6 separate regions of the Homo sapiens genome follow, and all the other regions are linked to region 2. Evidence: promoter capture Hi-C in 16 types of primary human blood cells and fetal thymus (Javierre and others, 2016). All regions are on one chromosome and are shown on one strand. Each heading gives the region's core, a stretch centred on a gene start or on the middle of the fragment in contact. The rest is flanking DNA. Distances are from core to core; before and after follow the strand shown.

Region 1 (2,912 bases), core at 208-2,707, 2.2 Mb before region 2:
TACAAACTTTCCCTCCCTCTCAAGCTACCTGCAGGTACTTTCATCTCTCATCGCACATGGTTCCTTCCACCTGAAACATATAAGCCTGATTTTAATGTCTTATGTTGTCTTGGCAAGAGCCTTAGAGAGCTGGCTTATTTTCCATCTCAGAGGCGATTTTGAGGAGTGTATTAGTTTGCTAGGGCTGCTGTAACAAAATACCTCACACTAGGTGACTTAAACAACAGAACTGTATTATCTTCTAGCTCTGGAGGCTAGAAGTATGAAATCAAGGTGTTGATAGGGCTGGTTCCTTCTGAGGGCAGTGAAGGAAGGATCTCCTTGGCTTGTAGATGGCCATTTTCTCCTTGTGTCTCCTCACATCATCTTCCCTCTATGTATAGCTCTGTATCCAAATTTCTCCTTTTTATAAGGACACCAGTCAGATTGGGTTAGGGCCCACCCTACTGACCTCACTTTAACTTGATTACCTATGAAAAGACTCTTTCCAAATAAGGTCACATTCTTAGGGACTGGGTCTTAGGACTTCAACAAATGAATTTTGAATTTCCCTTCTTCCATTCCCTTGAGTTGGCACAGCACCACCCTCGACCCCTCCTCCCAATACTGATGCACGTTATCTCCCAGCAGCAGGAGGTAGCATGTGATAGACAAATGGAACCTCTCCTCTTTTCAATTCCAATTTCTGTACTGTAAGAAAAAGGACACAAAGTTAAATGGTAAGATGAAATAAAGATAAAGTAGACATCCTATAAAGACTGTAAAATGGAGGTGATAATTTTGGCCTCTCTGTTTCAGAGCATTTTGAGGGATTCAACACAATAGTGAACCTGAGAGTGCTAGGAAACTGTGAAATGCCAGAAACGAACATAAAAGGGAATGTTCTTCAAAGGTTGAGCATTTACTTCTGGTCTATGGTCAACCCTCAGCAGAAAACCACGTGGAGAGATTCCAGCTTCTGGCACTGCCAGGAGGGAAGGCATCCCACGGTCCAGTTTTGTTGGGAGGGAAAGGAGATGAAAACTAGTAAGTCCCAGCCACATCCCTCAGCTGTTTTGTGTGTTAAAGGGACTTCTTTTTGCCTTAAGAAGATAGTTGCTTTGCTTTCTCACCTCCTTCACCCTCATTCTGTCCTTTGTCCCCTGCCTACATCCTCTCCCCTTCCCCATAGAATCCCTGGTATCCCTGAGGTGGTGGGAAACAGAAGACAGCCCAGGAAGGCTCTCCCACCCACTTGGTGTAGGGGCTGTCTGGCTCTCCTCTGAGTCATTGTCCCACGTGCATCCTCTCCTCCTGGGAGCAGACCTTCTACTGTCCTGTCCAAAGTCAGACTCAAGGTCAGAGGGTATGAGGATGTAAGGGCCAGAAGGAACCTTTGAGCTTATCTAGTGCCAGAAAAAAGCTGCGACTTCATGAGAAGAAGGAACTTGAACTTCATCATGGGTGAAATGATGTGCTAGGAACATTTCTAATCTTTTCTACTAGCTATTTTGAAATATACAATACATTATTGATAATTATAGTCACCCTACTGTGCCATCGAACACTAGAACTTATTCCTTCTATCTAACTGTATGTTTGTACCCATTGACCAACTGTATTAGTCTGTTCTCATGCTGCTATACAGAGCTGCCCGAGACTGAGTAGTTTACAAAGGGAAGAGATTTGATTGACTCACTGTTCCACAGGGCTAGGGAGGCCTCAGGAATTTACAATCATGGCAGAAGGGGAAGCAAACAAGCAAACATGTCCTTCACATGGCAGCAGGAAGGAGGAGTGCCGAGCAAAACTGGGGAAAAGCCCCTTATAAAACTATTGGATCTCATGAGAACTCACTCACTATCACGAGAATAGCATGAGGGTAATCATCTCCATGATTCAGTGACCTCCCATGAGGTCCCTCCCCCAACACATGGGGATTATAATTTGGATTACAACTCAAGATGAGATTTGGGTGGGGACACAGAACCAGAGTATATCACCAACCTCTCTTCAGTCCCCCTTCCCAGCCTCTGAAAATTACTTAACTTTTGAAGCTCCTGTTCACCTGGGAAGTGGAGCTAGGAGGGTACACACTTTCAGGATATAATGTGCTGCTGGGTGCAAAGAGGTCAGCACAGGTCCAGCCTCACCTCCCTTCAGGGACTGCCCACCTGGACCTGTGCGGCCAGGTTCACTTTCCTGCCTGCCCTTCGATTATGGTAGAGGAGCTTTATCTCTCCCCAGTGAGAGCCCTCTTTTTTTTTTTTTTTTTTTTTTTTTTTTTTTTTTTTTTTTTTTTTTTTTTTATGAGACAGAGTCTTGCTCTTGTCGCCCAGGCTTGAGTGCAGTGGCATGATCTCAGCTCGCTGCAACCTCTGCCTCTGGGTTCAAGCAATTATCCTGCCTAAGCCTCCTGAGTAGCTGGGATTACAGATGCCTGCCACCATGCCCGGCTGATTTTTGTACTTTTAGTAAAGACGAGGTTTTGCCATGTTGGTCAGGCTGGCCTCAAACTTTTGACTACAGGTGATCTGCTCACCTCGGCCTCCCAAAGTGCTGGGATTACAGGCATGAGCCACCAAGCCTGGCCCAGTCCTCTCTTCCCTCTGAGGACCCCTGCAGGACCACTATGCCCTTTATCCCTGGGACACTCAACCTCTCATGCTCAACTGGATCCTTCCCGTCTGCTTCTGTGTCTCTCTCGTGGAAAATAAAATAAAATAAAATAAAAACTGCCCTTCAACTCCAGTGAGTTGTCCCCACACATTCACTCTGACCCTTACCTTTCACACATTCCACTTGCCCCATCTGTCTTCTGGCCCTACAGCTCCACCAAAATGACCCTCATTGGCACTAGGTAAGCTCTATGTGGGTGAAGCCTTGGTGTCTTGGCAGCACGTGGTGCCGATGACTGCTTTTCCTCCTAAAAC
Region 2 (2,946 bases), core at 377-2,876:
GATGATCTGAGGAAACACTGCATTTCTTCAGATGGAAGAAGGGAGCACTGGCAGCTTGCTTTTTCTGAAAGCTTTGATTACAGAAGTATAGGTCCCTGATGCTTAAAGGGACCTTACAGCACATCTGATTCAACTGCCTTTTATAGGTGAAGAACTGATTCCTGTTAACCTGATAACATAGAAATTGCCTATCCTATTTTGTGAAAATCATCCTACTCTAGAAGTAGGAAATAATGGAGTAGGAACCTGGGCACTAAATTATAGTTGTTATATTATTAGGACTAAGTGTGTATGTCCACGGGCCTGACAGAAATGAATGCTCTGGACCCCATCCACTTGCCTTTCATTTGTTCCTGTGCCCTTTTTTCATACAAAGTGGATGGCCTCTTTAGGTTTCCTTTAGGAAATGTGTAAGTGCCTACAGGCCTTTGTGCTCACATTAAAATAATTTTTTTTGTTTTTATTTTTTGGAAAAATAACTTAAAGTCTGCTCAGAGACAGCTCAATTTCTTTATTTTAAAAATGGGATAAGACACACTATTTTTAGATGGCATTTGTGACTATCCAAATGAACAATGTAAAGTACTTTCAAAAATAGTGCTTTGTCAAAGAAACAAGTTATTCTATTTACTTTATGTATGCATTCCATTTATTTCTTCAGCAAATATTTATGAAGCACTTACTAGCATGATCACAATTTCAGTTAAATAGTTAAGTACAGTAGTCCCCCCTTTATCCATGGGTTCATTTTCCACATAATTATTCAATTTAATTATTAGTTATTGTTAATCTTTCACTGTGCCTAATTTATAAATTTAACTTTATCATATATATGTATAGGTAAAAACATAATACACATACATAGGTTTCAGTACTATCCATGGTTTGAGTCATCCACTGGGGATCTTAAAACATATCCCCTTGGATTAAAGGGAAATACTGTAATTAATTGCTTACTGCCTGTATCAGTCACTAGAATTCCAGCTTTCTGGGAAAAGGTACTTCTTCTCTTTTGTTCTCTAATGCTCAGCACCCTGCGTGGCTGGCATTTAAAAGACTAACAAATATTTGTTGAATGGATGGATGAATGCATGAATGAAAAACCAAATGAATAATGAAAACAAAAGTGTATAATACACTATAACACGTACTATATTGGGCTTGCGTAGTACTATGGGAATCTATAGTAGGAGCATTTAAAGCCAGCCTTGACGGGGCTAATCTCCGGAAGAGCAATTAATCTTTTCAAAATCCGACTCTTGCAGGATACGGTCCCCCACTGGCCTGCCACTAGTTTAAAACGAATTAGTTTCTGTGAAACATCAGGATCGTGCCAATAGTAGGGGACCAATAAGACTGAATAAGTCAAAGGGCTGCGCGGACAAGTCCAATTAGAACACCTCTGGCTAAAAGCCAGAATGAATGAAAGGGTTCATGCCTCGGCGTAGACACACAACTGGGACTGAAAAATCTGCCCCAAGCCTCCACGTCGACTTTGGCTCCACCTGCAGCGGCGGCGCCGTAGTCACGTGACCCGGGCCCCCGCGCCCTAGGCGCCTGGGCCAGCCTGCGCCTGCGCAGTACTCGGAGACAGCGGACCCGTGTCAGTGACAGCTTCCGGTTTGGTTTCTCCGCCTTCTGCTTGGCTAGAGCTATTGGGGCTCGGTGGCGGCCGCAGTGGGGTGGAGGGGGCAGGGCGTGGTGAGGTAAGGTGAGTGCCGTAGTGGGGTTCCCTGGAGCCATGGCCTGCTCCATTGTCCAGTTCTGCTACTTCCAGGACCTCCAGGCCGCCCGGGACTTCCTCTTTCCTCACCTGCGGGAGGAGATCCTCAGCGGCGCCTTGCGGAGGGACCCCAGTAAGTGCCTCTCTGGCCTCGCCCTTCCTTCCCTCGTCACCCGCGGCCTCTGCTCACGGGTTCGAGTCTCCTACTCGCTCTGCGCCTCCTGCCTCTGCCCTCTGGACCCCCAGTTCTCCCCGTGCCTCCCCTCCGCTCCGGGATGACACCCTGCCCACCTCGTCCTGAAGCCCCATTTGTGTTGTCTTCCTCTCGACCCAGCTTTTCTCCTTAGGCCCTCTGACCCCTGGCTAAAAACTGCGTCTTGTTTCCTCTCGCCTCTGCCTATCACCGCTTTCTCCCTCCCTCCCCCCACCCCCACACATTCCTAGCTTTCTCTCTGAGTATCTTCTCCGTCTCCCATCTTCAGCCTGGGGTCGTTCCCTGTTTCATGTTGCCTGCTCCGTGATCGCATCCTCCCCGTTCCTTGCCACATGTCAGCGCTCCACTCTGGTATTGCCCCAGCTCCCACTCTCTTCCATCCCGGAGACTGTGGCCTTCTGCTACCTCCCATTCCGAAAGTGTTGATCATCCCCCCACACTCTCCCTTCTTTCATCTGCATTTCCCCCATTCAGATTTTGAGAACAAATGGCTGACAAATGAGTGACTCTTGAGGTAAGACTCTCTCAAAGAAGGAAAATAACCTGTCAGGAAGTGAACGAGAATCTACATTAGGAACTAAAATTACAGTGACATAGCCAAGAAAGGTTAATTTGCTTTATTGAAGCCTTCCACCTATTTTTATCATCAAAGTGTTTAATAAGCCTTTCCCCAAGTAGTATAAAGTTCCAAGGCTGGTTTATTAGATACTATATAGGCTTTCAGAATTTCGTACATTTCATTTTGAAAGGGTGTGCCTTGTGTTTTATTTTATTTTATTTTATTTTATTTTATTTTTGCATTTCCAACCTGAAGCACATTTGGCTTTGTAGTACAGCGCTCTCACTTTGTGCTATACCGGAATGGTGATATAAAGCCCACTAAGCTCCTCTCCCTTTTTTAGAAAATTTAGAAGATATCAAATCGAACCCATCTGTGAATGATTGCATACTTTGTGCCAGTCATTGGTGCTACAAACCAAATAAGGTTGGTGGACCCTGCTGTAGGAAC
Region 3 (2,924 bases), core at 143-2,642, 2.6 Mb after region 2:
CAGCAAGACCCTATCTCATTGACATATTTTCCATTGGTCTGTCATGTCACTGTATTCCATAATAGTCTAATTCACTTTTTTGCAGTTTCTTTTAAGTTACAAAAACTCCTGGGGCAATGCTTCTTTAAAATGAAACTCTTCCTGGGCAAGAAGTTTGGCTGTAGGGAGATGAAGAAGACTGCTAGTGGTTTTCTTACCCGTTATCTATTAATTAATATATTGGTACTAGTTACCGTGTCAGAATGGTTTAGACACTTTCATTTTATTTTATTTTATTTATATTTATTTATTTATTTATTGAGACAGGGTCTTAATTTGTCACCCAGGCTGGAGTGCAGTGGTACAATGTCGGGTCACTGCAACCTCTGCCTCCCAGGTTCAAGCGATTCTCCTGCCTCAGCCTCCGGACTAGCTGGGATGACAGGCATGTGCCACCATGCCCGGCTAGTTTTTGTATTTTTAATAGAGACGGGGTTTCACCATGTTGTCCTGGTTGGTCTAGAACTCCTGGCCTCAGGTGATTCGCCCCCCTCGGCCTCCCAAAGTGCTGGGATTACAGGCGTGAGCCACCACACCCGGCAGATACGTTCATTTTAAAAAGGCGAATGAGTCATAGAACAATTGAGTTTAGTGATGTTTGTAAAATAACGGAGGCTCAAATCCCTAGGTAGATGGGACACAATCTGAGTTCATTGGGCTAGTGAGTCAGGGTGACCCCCAGTCAGGGTATTGAACATAGGTTTCATCAAATTGCAGAGTGGTGATGTCGAAGAAAAAAAGCACTTTACAATTTTATCTATGCTGGGAGTTTCCTTAAATCATCTCACACTGAATATCTACGGCCCCTCTCTATTTAGAATTTCGTTGTATGGTAACAGAAACTCCCAATTATGTTTGCAGCCCATTAAGGGAAGAATTGGGTACTACTTAATGAATTAGGGTAATCGTTAAATCGTTAATTGGAAACTCCCGCTGAGGAACAACTGGTATAAAGTCACGCCCGCCCTTTACGCGATCCTTCTCTTCCTGACTTACCTGTTCCTAAAGTAGTACTGATTTCCTACAGTCGACGACCTAGCTTGCAGCCGGGCTAACGTGGCCATGGTCTCTTGGCCTTGGGTTTACAACTGGTGTTACTACCGGTCTCCATGGTAACTGGGCTAAACCATAGCTCACTCCCGGGGTTCGACTTTTTGTTCACTCCTCTTTTCTCTCATGCTGCTTTGACTTTAAGAGCACTAAAAAGAGAATTAAGAAATTTCTGTGTAGCACAAAAGTTTAATTTATTTGTCTCTGTCTCTACTGCGAGTAGGAAGAGGGGATTATAGGAAGGGGAAAGCAGTAAACGCGGAGAACTAATGGTTGCTCCGGGCATCCGGTTTCCGCCGCCTGTCGGCTTCCGGAAGCTCATCTCAAAATGCTGAACTGCTCTTTGGAAGTCGCCGGTGCTGTTGTAGTTGGAGTCTGTTCACGGGCCTGAGCTTCGAGGCCAGGCTCCCGGGTGTCGTTAATGTTCGGGGCCGCCGGGCGCCAACCGATCGGAGCTCCAGCAGCCGGGAACAGCTGGTGAGGCTGGCGGCCCTGGGGAGGGGGAGGTCAGGGAAGGGTGTGATTGCCCGAGGCCGCTCCGCTGGACCTGGAATGGAGGCGGGAGGGAGCTGTGATGGATGATCTGAAGACATCTAGGCCTTGCTCTCACTCATTCCTGGGATGCACGCAGTTTGAGGGAGCTCTTGGGTGTGTGCCAAAGATTTGTGAAAGAATACAGTAAATGTTTTCTGATTGCTTGTTTAACAATATTTTAGAAGTCAAGCTTCCTGTACTCCAGGAGCAATTCATCTCCTCATTGATTGTTGACAACACTAGGGACAGGAAGAATTTATCTTAATCCGGGCCTTATTCCCCACTCCTCTTTCAATATTTACCAGATTATACCAAGTCTTTTGGAAGATAAATTCCAGAAATCTAGAGTTCTGGAAGTTCAATCGTGGAAAACACATCACCCTCTCACCCCCTTTTTTAAAGAGAGAGGGTAACCTACCTGTTTCCACCCTCTTGAACATTCTATTCAAGTTAAAGTGAGATATGTATGGGGGCTTTCCAAGAACCTATAACTGTCAGGATTAAGTTTGGGGCTTGACTATGTCTATGGTATCATGTTAGAATAATATATTGCTTTGACTTTTCAAAGTATTTCCACAAATTAATACACTTTATCCTATGACAGCCTTGTGATAGCAGAATATCACAAGCACAGAAAATTCAAGTACCGTGTCCAAAGTTGCCCTGTACATTTTAATCCTAGAGCTAGAATCCTGATTTGGGGATTTCTAGTTGAACACTCTGTATTATCTGTCCTGTTTTTCTCCCAAGCCCTTTTCCTCCAAACATAACATAAGACAACCAGTGACACAAACAAGCAATTTCCCATTGAAAATCCTCAAACATAAAGTTCTGACCAACAGGTGAAAGAAATGTGGCTAAATGGTGCGTGTTCATTCCTAGATTCTGCAAAAATTAGAACATGAGGAATTCTAGTAGTCTGTGATCTCAGATAATTGCTTTTCCATCACCTATCACTGAAAAGTTAAAAGAATACCTTATCCAAAATATTTCTAGTTGGACCTGATCATCCTGTAGTTAATTTTATAGTGAATATAGATTTGATTATACTATTTGTAAATTATTACATTTTCCAGTGAGAAAAGTAGGGAGCATTTTTTAAATGAACCAGTTTTTAATGGTATAACTAGCATAGAATGAAATGCACAATTTTTACAGGCTTAATTTTATTAGTTTTGGCAATTGCATATACTTATGTAAACACCACACAAAACAAGATAATGGATTTGTCCATCACCCCACAGTTCCCTCTCAAGGATACCTGTCTTAATGTTTCACTGTTCATTATCTTGGTTAAGTCA
Region 4 (2,946 bases), core at 424-2,923, 2.4 Mb before region 2:
GAAAATGAGCATATTTTTAGTCATGTCGATTAGCTGTTCTTCTACATCACATTGTTACTCTTTCTGATGATGATTCTAGGGTTAACATTGGAACCATCTCAAAATAATTACAAAGTTTTAGATGGGTTTACAATGTCTTCTAAACAATGTAATCTAAAAATAATTGAGTCAGATGCTAACGAGATACTGCAGGCATAACTGCTGTTTTTCTGACAACTGATTGTGAAACCTTAAAACCTGCATACCTCTTCTTACAGTGAGGAGTATGCAAAATCTGGAAAGATATTCTATTTTTTTTATATAGGTAGATAGGATCGCCATTTATTTCCTATTTAGATATACTGACATTCATCCATATGAAAATATGCAGGTCATTAGCTTACTATAATTTACTTTTGACTTAATGGGGCATAAATAAAACTTTCATAGTACACATGAGGTGGATATTTGATACACAGAACATTTGCGGTGGGCTTTCTGTGGGTTAGATGTAAAGCCCACATATTTTAATATTCACTATTTTAAATGAGCAATGCATGAGGGGAATGCAGTGTCAGTACCTGGCCTATTTTTAAACTAGTGTAATCACCCTAGTCATACCATTCAGTATGTTTGCTTTTTAAAATAAGTAACCACAACTAAGTTGTTGTAGCCCTTGCACTTCAAGAGATCTAGTCTTTACTTTCAGTTGTCTGTTAGGTCCATTCTGTTTACTAGACGGATGTTAATAAAAACTATGCGAGCCTGAATGAATTCTCAGCCAAATTTAGTCTTGTCTCTCATCTTGATTGGATTAATTCCAAATTCTAAAATGATTCAGTCCACAATAGCTCTAGGGGATGAAGAATTTGCCTTACTTTGCCCAGTTCCTAAGACTGTGAGTTGTCAAATCCCTAGACTGTAAGCTCTTCAAGGAGCAAGAGGCGCATTTTCTCCGTGTCATGTAATTTTTCTAAGGTGCTTGGCAGCACTCTGTACCCTGTGGAGTACTCAGTACCTTTTGTTTGATGTTGCTGACAAGACCTGAAAAAAAATCCCTTAAAAAAAAAACCCATTAAAGTGTAGCAAAACCGATGTATTATTTTTTCTCTTTTCTCATAAACCATAAGATATGTATATCAAAATGATAATTTATATGAAGCATCTGCTATCCTTCACATAAGTATAGTTTATATGAACTACAAATACCTTTCATCAACATTAAAGAAGCTTAAATTGAACACTGTGTGATTAACTTAACTTTAATTCAGACCTGAATATAACGAGAAAATGAGTGATTATCTTGAAGTTGACACAGAATATACCACATCCCACGAATTACTTAAATTTACTTTCCAATGAAAAAAATCAGCCATTGGCGATATAACTACAACAACTATGGCAGAAATGCTTTCAGGCTGAATATTGCTGCTTCATAAATAAGACAATTTTAGCAACTAAATCCAGACACAATTAGTTGGAGATGACTTCCAAAATAGATGAAACTTTAGAGATGGAAAAGTGATTTGGCTGAGGGATGATACTCCCTATGCCATCTGCATATTGGCACCCTGCTTTGGGGTTTGCTGCAGAAATGGTGCAATCAGATGGATGTGAGGAAGCAGTTATGGACTGGCTCACAACTTCTCAGAGAAGCTACACTGGAATCTTTACAGCTTACCAGTTTCTCAATTATGTCAGATACAGAATAATCACCAAAAAAGGCTTTAGAGGGGAAAAATACTCTAATATTTTGAATTTTAAAAATAGATTTAATTTACCTTTCCTACTTACCTTCCTAGATGGCATAATCTACACTTAAATGACATTTAAAATTAGAAATTATATTAACTTCAGCATTGTTTTGTGTCCTAAAGAGATATTGACAGGTAAATTCAAAAGTTGTATTTGTGACTTAATCTTATTTTTACATGGCTAAAAGTGGCCTATGCTCTTCTGTGGAGTTTTCCTCTTAATTTCTTCTATTCTTGATATTAAACGGGAGGACATATAGATTGAATTCTCTTTTCCTGAAGAATTTTTATATTCCTTATGAACTTTGACAGAGTTGTCTTCTTTCAAAGGTCCTTATCTTTCTAAACTATCTATCTTCAGTTGTTTAGTATAAAGAGAGAAAATTGTTTCACATTGAAGCTTTTGCTCCTTTTTACAAGGTATTCTTAATCGATTAAATATCACAACAGTGACAAGACATACACTAGGTTTCAAAAATATTACATCATAGGACTTCAAAGAATGGAAGAATATAGCCTAGCAGCAAACAAAAGTATCAGCCTTTTATGATTTTAGTTTTAGTGTGGATCTGAAACTCCTTAAAAGGAGTGCTATTATTACTGTAATTAAAATGTCTGAAGTTCGTTCTTAGAAACGTTGTAGAGTATTTAAAGAAACATTGTTTTAAAGACAGTGTAGTAATGGATAAGACTTTAAGTATGGTGCAATTCCAGATGGTTAGTTACTGATTTTTAAATAAAAACACCAACGTTTAAATATTAATTAATATTAATTTTGGAATAATATCTGTCGCCCCCATTTCCCCCTAAAACAGAACTGATTTCAACCCTTGGTTGCTGACCTAGGGCATGTTATAACCCTCACAGTCCTAAATCATTCTTTCTCATGGCATTATACTCTTCCAATCTTTTTATTATATTCCTCAAAAATCAGTGGCAAGGAATGGGAAAGATAGATAAGGGACTGTACATTTTAAAATTTTTAAAGATTTCTATACTTTTATGGCCATGACACATCATTTTCATTTTTCTGTTGTGCACCCTTTTTCTACAGGAATGGTAAAAACAATGGAACATCAGGTCAAACAACTCTTGCTACTAATGTAAACTCACTCTCAGAAAACCATTCTCAAATAGACAATGAGGATCGTAAAGAAAGCATGTGAATGCTATACAAGTGGGAAATAAACTTCTTTGAAATAAAAAGACGTCA
Region 5 (2,700 bases), core at 51-2,550, 2.4 Mb before region 2:
CTGAGGCTGAGGAACAGCAGTTAGGACACAGAGCCTATATAACTTTCTGAAAAACGAAAAAGGCGTTAGAATTTTTTTATTAACAAATAGGAGAAACAAGAGTGGGAAATGTAAAATGTTTTCAACTTTTCCCCTTCCATTTACCCTTTGATTCTCCCTTTTTATCTGAAGAAAAGCACCAGGAGGTTAGAGAAGGCCTCACAGGAAAAAAGACCCTTCTTTTTAAGTAATTTTACAATCAATTGTGAGAGAAAATTTATTAATGATGATATATGTGATATAATTATGAAATCAGAAAAAGAGTACTCAGTTTTAGAAAGATTTGCATCCAATAATTTTGGCCATTTTAACTGTGAAGTTTCAATACAAAGCTTTTCATCTGCAAAGCTCATTTACACAAATAATCTTCTCCCAATTATGTTAAATAACTATGCAGCTGAATGCTATATAGTATAATCATAAGGATGTACAAGTATGAGTATACACACTTATACAAACATGTTTAAGTCTGAAAGGCAAATTCTGCACAGAAGATAAAAAAATTAACGGTGTGTCTTTACACATGATATAATTTGCATTTCGAAATAAAAAGATATTTTCTGAGTAAAATAGTACATGATGAAATCAGAAAATCTGGAAAATACACATTTTTTAAAAACTGAAAACTTACCTCATCTCCTAGATATAAGAATTTTTATCATTTTATTGTATTTCCTTGCAGCATTTATTTTCTGTGTGTATGTTTATGTAATATACAGTTTATCTATACCTTAAAGTCTTGGTTTCTACTTTTTTTCTACTTCATGTTAAATTGTGAGTATTTGTTGTGCTCCTATGTCTTTGAATTATATAAAGCAGCCTAATATCCCATTATATGAACATACAATAATTTAACAATTTTCCCACTGTGAATCACAGTAGGTTGTGTCAAAGTTTTCACTCTAATAAATACTGTTCTACTGAATGCTCTCATGTAAGATATTTAAAACTTTTTTTTGAGACAGAGTCTCACTTTGTCGCCTAGGCTGGAGTGCAGTGGCATGATCTGCTTCCCCAGTTCAAGCGATTCTCCTGCCTCAGCCTCCCAAGTAGCTGGGATTACAGGCTCCTGCCACCACCCCCGGCTAAGTTTTGTATTTTTAGTAGAGATGGGGTTTTGTCTTGTTGGTCAGGCTGGTCTCAAACTCCTGGCCTTATGTGATCCACCCGCCTCCGCCTCCCAAAGTGCTGGTATTACAGGTGTGAGCCACCACGCCCGGCCATGTAAGATATTTAATGCATGATTGGTTATTTCTTTCTTTCTTTTTTTTTTTTTTTGAGATGGAGTCTCACTCTGTCACCCAGGCTGGAGTGCAGTGGCACATCTCAGCTCACTGCAGCCTCCGCCTCCCAGGTTCAAGCGATTCTCTGCCTCAGCATCCCGAGTAGCTGGGATTACAGGCATGTGCCACAACACCTGGCTAATTTTCGTATTTTTAGAAGAGATGGGGTTTCATCATGTTGGCTAAGCTGGTCTCGAACTCCTGGCCTCAAGTGATCCGCCTGCCTCGGACTCTCAAAGTGCTGGGATTACAGGTGTGAGCCACTGTGCCGGCTGACTGGTTATTTCTTTAGGATCGATTACTAGACATGACATTAATACAATATAAAAGGATATAACCATTTTTAAGGCTTATCATACACATCATGAAACTATTTTTCAGGATGGCTCTAAGAATTCCTAGTTCTACTAACAGTGTACATATGACCTATCTAATTCTTTCTTTTCATCCTTTGTGAGTTGAAATACAGACCCACCTAATTCTTAAAATTTAGACTTTGATATGAGACATATAAACTGAAGTTTTCCCACTGAGATTATACATGTTGTCTTATTCACTTAAGAATTTACCAACACAAAAATTATACTAAATTATTTTACAAGGTTAGCTTGAATTAAAAGCATTAATTTCTGTTCATATTAGAAACTGAAAAAGAAACAAAAGGACTGTGATTATAAAACCATACTTGAATTTATGAGTTAAAGTATGCATTAATTTACTCACAACAAGGACAGTTCTCCATAAGAAAATGGCAAACGAAGCAATTCCCAAGAAGGCAGTGATAAATACAGGTTTCCATGGCAGTCCATAAAAATCAGGCCCAGGCTGAACATCATCAGGCAATGTAGCAACTAGCTGAATGTTAGAAATAATGTTAGAAATAATGAGAAACCTTAAAGAAGCTTACCATAAAGCAGTCACAAAGACTCATTCACAGAAATTCTAAACCAACTCTATCAGATACCTATCCCCTCAAAAATCTTCAGTAGCTCTCACTGCTTTAAGAAAAACAGGATACTGGGAGTCTCATACTTATTGTTTGGCCTGTGGTGTTTTGAAGTACTATGACTCTAAATGTCTTTAGGTTGGGCATATATTTCTAGTTTCAATAGGCCCTGATACAATATGTTATCTAAAACATGGCTGGAATCTCTCTGCATCATACTTTTGTCTTGAATAAATTGGTTTTTATTGCTTAAAAAACCACATAAGACAAAAAACCTTTTATATACAAGTAACTAACTTTTTATGGCTGCAAATAAAACCAATATGATGATAATGAATATCACAAATAACGTTTTATTCCTCTAAGATTTAAAATCTTAAATCGACTTACATAAACAAAGAACAAATGCTGACTAAGTTCGGATAGCTCCTG
Region 6 (2,790 bases), core at 110-2,609, 2.3 Mb before region 2:
TAATGATTATGTATGTTATTTTGTGTGTGGTCTCCTGGACTACGCATAATTTATGTTAGCCCTGCCTGTAGAGTTAGAGCACAAGCTTGAGTGAGGACTCAAGAACTAATGACAGAGAGAGCAGCAGAAGGAACTTTTCTTGCAAGTCCTTAACTACTGCATATTGTTTTATGCAGAAGACAACATAGAATCAACTATTTGTAGCATTTTAAGGAATCCATGTACAAAATTTTTTTTGACAGGGTCTCATTCTGTCGCCCAGGCTGGAGTGCAGTAGGGTGATCACAGCTCACTGCAGCCTCGACCTCCCTGGGCTCAGGTGATCCTCCCACCTCATCCTCCCGAGTAGCTGGGACTAGAGGCATGCATCATCACCCCAGCTTATTTTTTTTTATTTTTATTTTGTAGGGACGGGGTTTCATCATGTTGACTAGGCTGGTTTCGAACTCCTGAGCTCAAACTTTCCGCCTGCCTCGGCCTCCCAAAGGGCTGGGATTACAGGCATGAGCCACCGCGCCCGGCCTCAAACTCTTACCAGACCCTTTAATTTCCTCTCCGATACTCCGATTCTACTCAAACTGTTCACCTACACAGAGGAAACTCAGTGATTCCTGGGGGAGCCTATGCTATATTTGTGCATCCTCATTTGTGGACAAAATTCTTTCTTGCTGTGACTTGAAAGCAGCCTCCCTTTACCTTTCACTTATTAGTCCTAGTTCTGTTCTCTGCTGCTAAGAAAAAGGGTCTGATCCTTCTTTCACTGATCAGCCCTCCAAATATTGGAGAAGCACACTGCGTTTCCATGGGCCTGCAGTCCTTTTCCGGGATCATCTTCCCTAGAACCCCTCAACTGTCTCTCATTTCACACGGTTTAACCATCTTACCTTTAACCCATATTTCATTTGTTTGTCTCAATGTCCCTCATGAAAGTTGACCCAGACGGGTCCGCAGAACAACTTTTGCTGAGAAGGCAAAGGAAATTCTCGCCCAAATTGTGGAGAAGGCAGTCGAACCAATTAAACCTAAAGCTAAAACTGTAATAGAAAAGAACTTTCAAGCTCGCAATGAAAAGGCTATGCATGGATTTATCTCATCACAGCCACTAGCCACACCTCCACTCGTGCAGTGCGCCTGCGAGCCGAGCAGAAACCAATGGCCCATCGTAGTGAATTTCTCGGGTAAAGTGACATTCTCCGCTTTTGAATGCTCCCTTCGCCCAGCCGCCAACCCCTCGCCCCAATTTCCATTTTAAATGAAAGTCTCCCACTTTCTAGCTGAGACAGACAAAAATAAAACTCGGGCAAAACCAATCGCAGAGAGGCAGCTCACTGTCACTTCCTGGGTCACTTCCAGAAGTCACTTCCGGGGTCGAGGCGAGGCCAACGATACGCCTGCTGCAGCAGGAGGAGTTACGAGCCGGGCCGCGCGCTGCCTAAATACCTAAACCAGGTTTAGCGCCTGCTCATATAAAGCTCTCCTAACTCGTCTTCCGGTGGGAATTTCTTCACGTGGGCCGGAGTCGGAGACTGAGTTTAGCTTTACTGAGGAGCTCTAAATTTAGGCGGGTAAGTGCCGCAGATATCGCCCGTGGTTCCTGCGTTTAAATGGAACGGGAAGGGGTGTGTCAGGATTCATCCATGTTCTCCTGATATTTCCTCCTAATACCTGAAACCCTTGGGGTCTGAAAACGAAAGAAGGGGATAGAGAAGCTTTGGTTGCCGTGGCAACTGCGGGTCACCAATTTGGGTTTTTGAGGATTTGGAAAGGGAGGATTTGTGTAACTACTCCTGAAAACACGTGATGGGTCGGATTCAAATTCAGTTGTTACTTATAATTCATACTCCTAGCCACATGCTTTGAATTTAGAAGGTTTACTCTGGGTATAATGCAGAGATGCAAAATCTGAGCCAGGGTAATTGTTTAGAAAGCTGATGCGGTAATCTAGGCACTGTTTGAAGGGGTCTTGAACTAGAGTAGTGCTGTAGGATTGAAGAGGGGAAATAGGGGAAATTTGGAGGTAGTATCAGGGGCACTAATACTCGATTTCATATGGGTAATGAGGAAGGGGCCCTGAGCATCTTTAGGAGTAAGTCTAAACTCACCTTGGCTTATGATGATTTTTCTAGGTTCGTTTCTCACCTTCCGCACCCCTCCTCCACACGCACCTCGAATTCTAGTCATGCCAAGTAGTTTGGTGTTCTATTTCCTAGACTATCGTCCTCACCATTTTTTGTGATGTTAGGCAGGTTCCATCATTTCACTAAGCCCCTCAGTTTTTTCAACCTTCACATGGAAGAAAGTAATAGTACCCACCTCAGGATTGCTGTGGGGATTAAATTAGATAATTTATACTTCTAGTGCATAGTAAGGGCCTAATAAATATTAGCTGCTACTTCTATTCTTACTGTACTTTTCATATTGTTTTGTTATTATACGTTTTGCTGTTTCTTCGTCTAGACTTGAGATTTTTTAAATTAGAGGGGCAGTATCTTATTTATCTTTACATGGACTTGAAACATTAGTGGTTCGGTCTTTAATGGATCATTCATTTTGGCTGTTGCTGACATAGTTAAATTCATTTTTTACTTTAAAAGAGCTGACAGGTATAATGCATTTTGCTAATCAAATTATATTTATTAGATAAAAAGATAGCCGTTTTTCTGTACAACTCAGAAGACTGTGGATTAAGATGTACAGAAAGTAACTGATATCTCATCTTGTAATAGGTATGAGTGATTTCAGTGAAGAATTAAAAGGGCCTGTGACAGATGATGAAGAAGTGGAAACATC

What was found. The method cuts DNA at HindIII sites, captures the fragments that hold promoters and counts their contacts. A CHiCAGO score of 5 or more calls a contact.
Region 1: a contact is called between a fragment that was not itself captured here and the fragment with the promoter of RAB3GAP2 in region 2, in 1 of 17 cell types (total CD8 T cells). The highest score is 6.2, in total CD8 T cells.
Region 3: the fragment with the promoter of GPATCH2 here is called in contact with the fragment with the promoter of RAB3GAP2 in region 2 in 4 of 17 cell types (total CD4 T cells, non-activated CD4 T cells, total CD8 T cells and 1 more); the score reaches 8.5 in total CD4 T cells.
Region 4: a contact is called between a fragment that was not itself captured here and the fragment with the promoter of RAB3GAP2 in region 2, in 1 of 17 cell types (total B cells). The highest score is 5.3, in total B cells.
Region 5: a contact is called between a fragment that was not itself captured here and the fragment with the promoter of RAB3GAP2 in region 2, in 2 of 17 cell types (monocytes and naive B cells). The highest score is 10.8, in monocytes.
Region 6: a contact is called between the fragment with the promoter of TAF1A here and the fragment with the promoter of RAB3GAP2 in region 2, in 5 of 17 cell types (activated CD4 T cells, naive CD8 T cells, total CD8 T cells and 2 more). The highest score is 7.8, in activated CD4 T cells.

Annotation. Positions count from the first base shown.
Region 1 is chr1:222,460,517-222,463,428 of GRCh38, reverse strand. No RefSeq gene overlaps it. Among named protein-coding and RNA genes, the nearest start is that of TRT-TGT2-1, 3.0 kb to the left of the region's middle. The HindIII fragment of the contact is 4,058 bases long and covers 1-2,912 here.
Region 2 is chr1:220,271,133-220,274,078 of GRCh38, reverse strand. RAB3GAP2 (RAB3 GTPase activating non-catalytic protein subunit 2) reads left to right here and starts at 1,626. Exons shown (of 35, transcript NM_012414.4): 1 at 1,626-1,856. The coding sequence starts at 1,742. The HindIII fragment of the contact is 3,718 bases long and covers 74-2,946 here.
Region 3 is chr1:217,629,558-217,632,481 of GRCh38, reverse strand. GPATCH2 (G-patch domain containing 2) reads left to right here and starts at 1,392. Exons shown (of 10, transcript NM_018040.5): 1 at 1,392-1,566. The coding sequence starts at 1,511. SPATA17 (spermatogenesis associated 17) reads right to left here and starts at 1,138. Exons shown (of 11, transcript NM_138796.4): 1 at 1,036-1,138. The coding sequence starts at 1,103. RefSeq lists enhancers at 1,114-1,353, 1,384-1,453. The HindIII fragment of the contact is 9,292 bases long and covers 1-1,815 here.
Region 4 is chr1:222,666,287-222,669,232 of GRCh38, reverse strand. It overlaps MIA3 (MIA SH3 domain ER export factor 3), which reads right to left. Exons shown (of 28, transcript NM_198551.4): 28 at 1,226-2,946. It overlaps AIDA (axin interactor, dorsalization associated), which reads left to right. Exons shown (of 10, transcript NM_022831.4): 10 at 1-1,220. Among named protein-coding and RNA genes, the nearest start is that of AIDA, 45 kb to the left of the region's middle. The HindIII fragment of the contact is 924 bases long and covers 1,212-2,135 here.
Region 5 is chr1:222,645,031-222,647,730 of GRCh38, reverse strand. MIA3 (MIA SH3 domain ER export factor 3) reads right to left here. Exons shown (of 28, transcript NM_198551.4): 7 at 2,046-2,177. Among named protein-coding and RNA genes, the nearest start is that of MIA3, 28 kb to the right of the region's middle. RefSeq lists an enhancer at 2,675-2,700. The HindIII fragment of the contact is 1,853 bases long and covers 374-2,226 here.
Region 6 is chr1:222,588,502-222,591,291 of GRCh38, reverse strand. TAF1A (TATA-box binding protein associated factor, RNA polymerase I subunit A) reads left to right here and starts at 1,359. Exons shown (of 11, transcript NM_005681.4): 1 at 1,359-1,565; 2 at 2,727-2,790. The coding sequence starts at 2,729. TAF1A-AS1 (TAF1A antisense RNA 1) reads right to left here and starts at 1,372. Exons shown (of 3, transcript NR_110613.1): 1 at 1,330-1,372; 2 at 885-1,034. RefSeq lists enhancers at 326-858, 859-1,392. The HindIII fragment of the contact is 1,624 bases long and covers 88-1,711 here.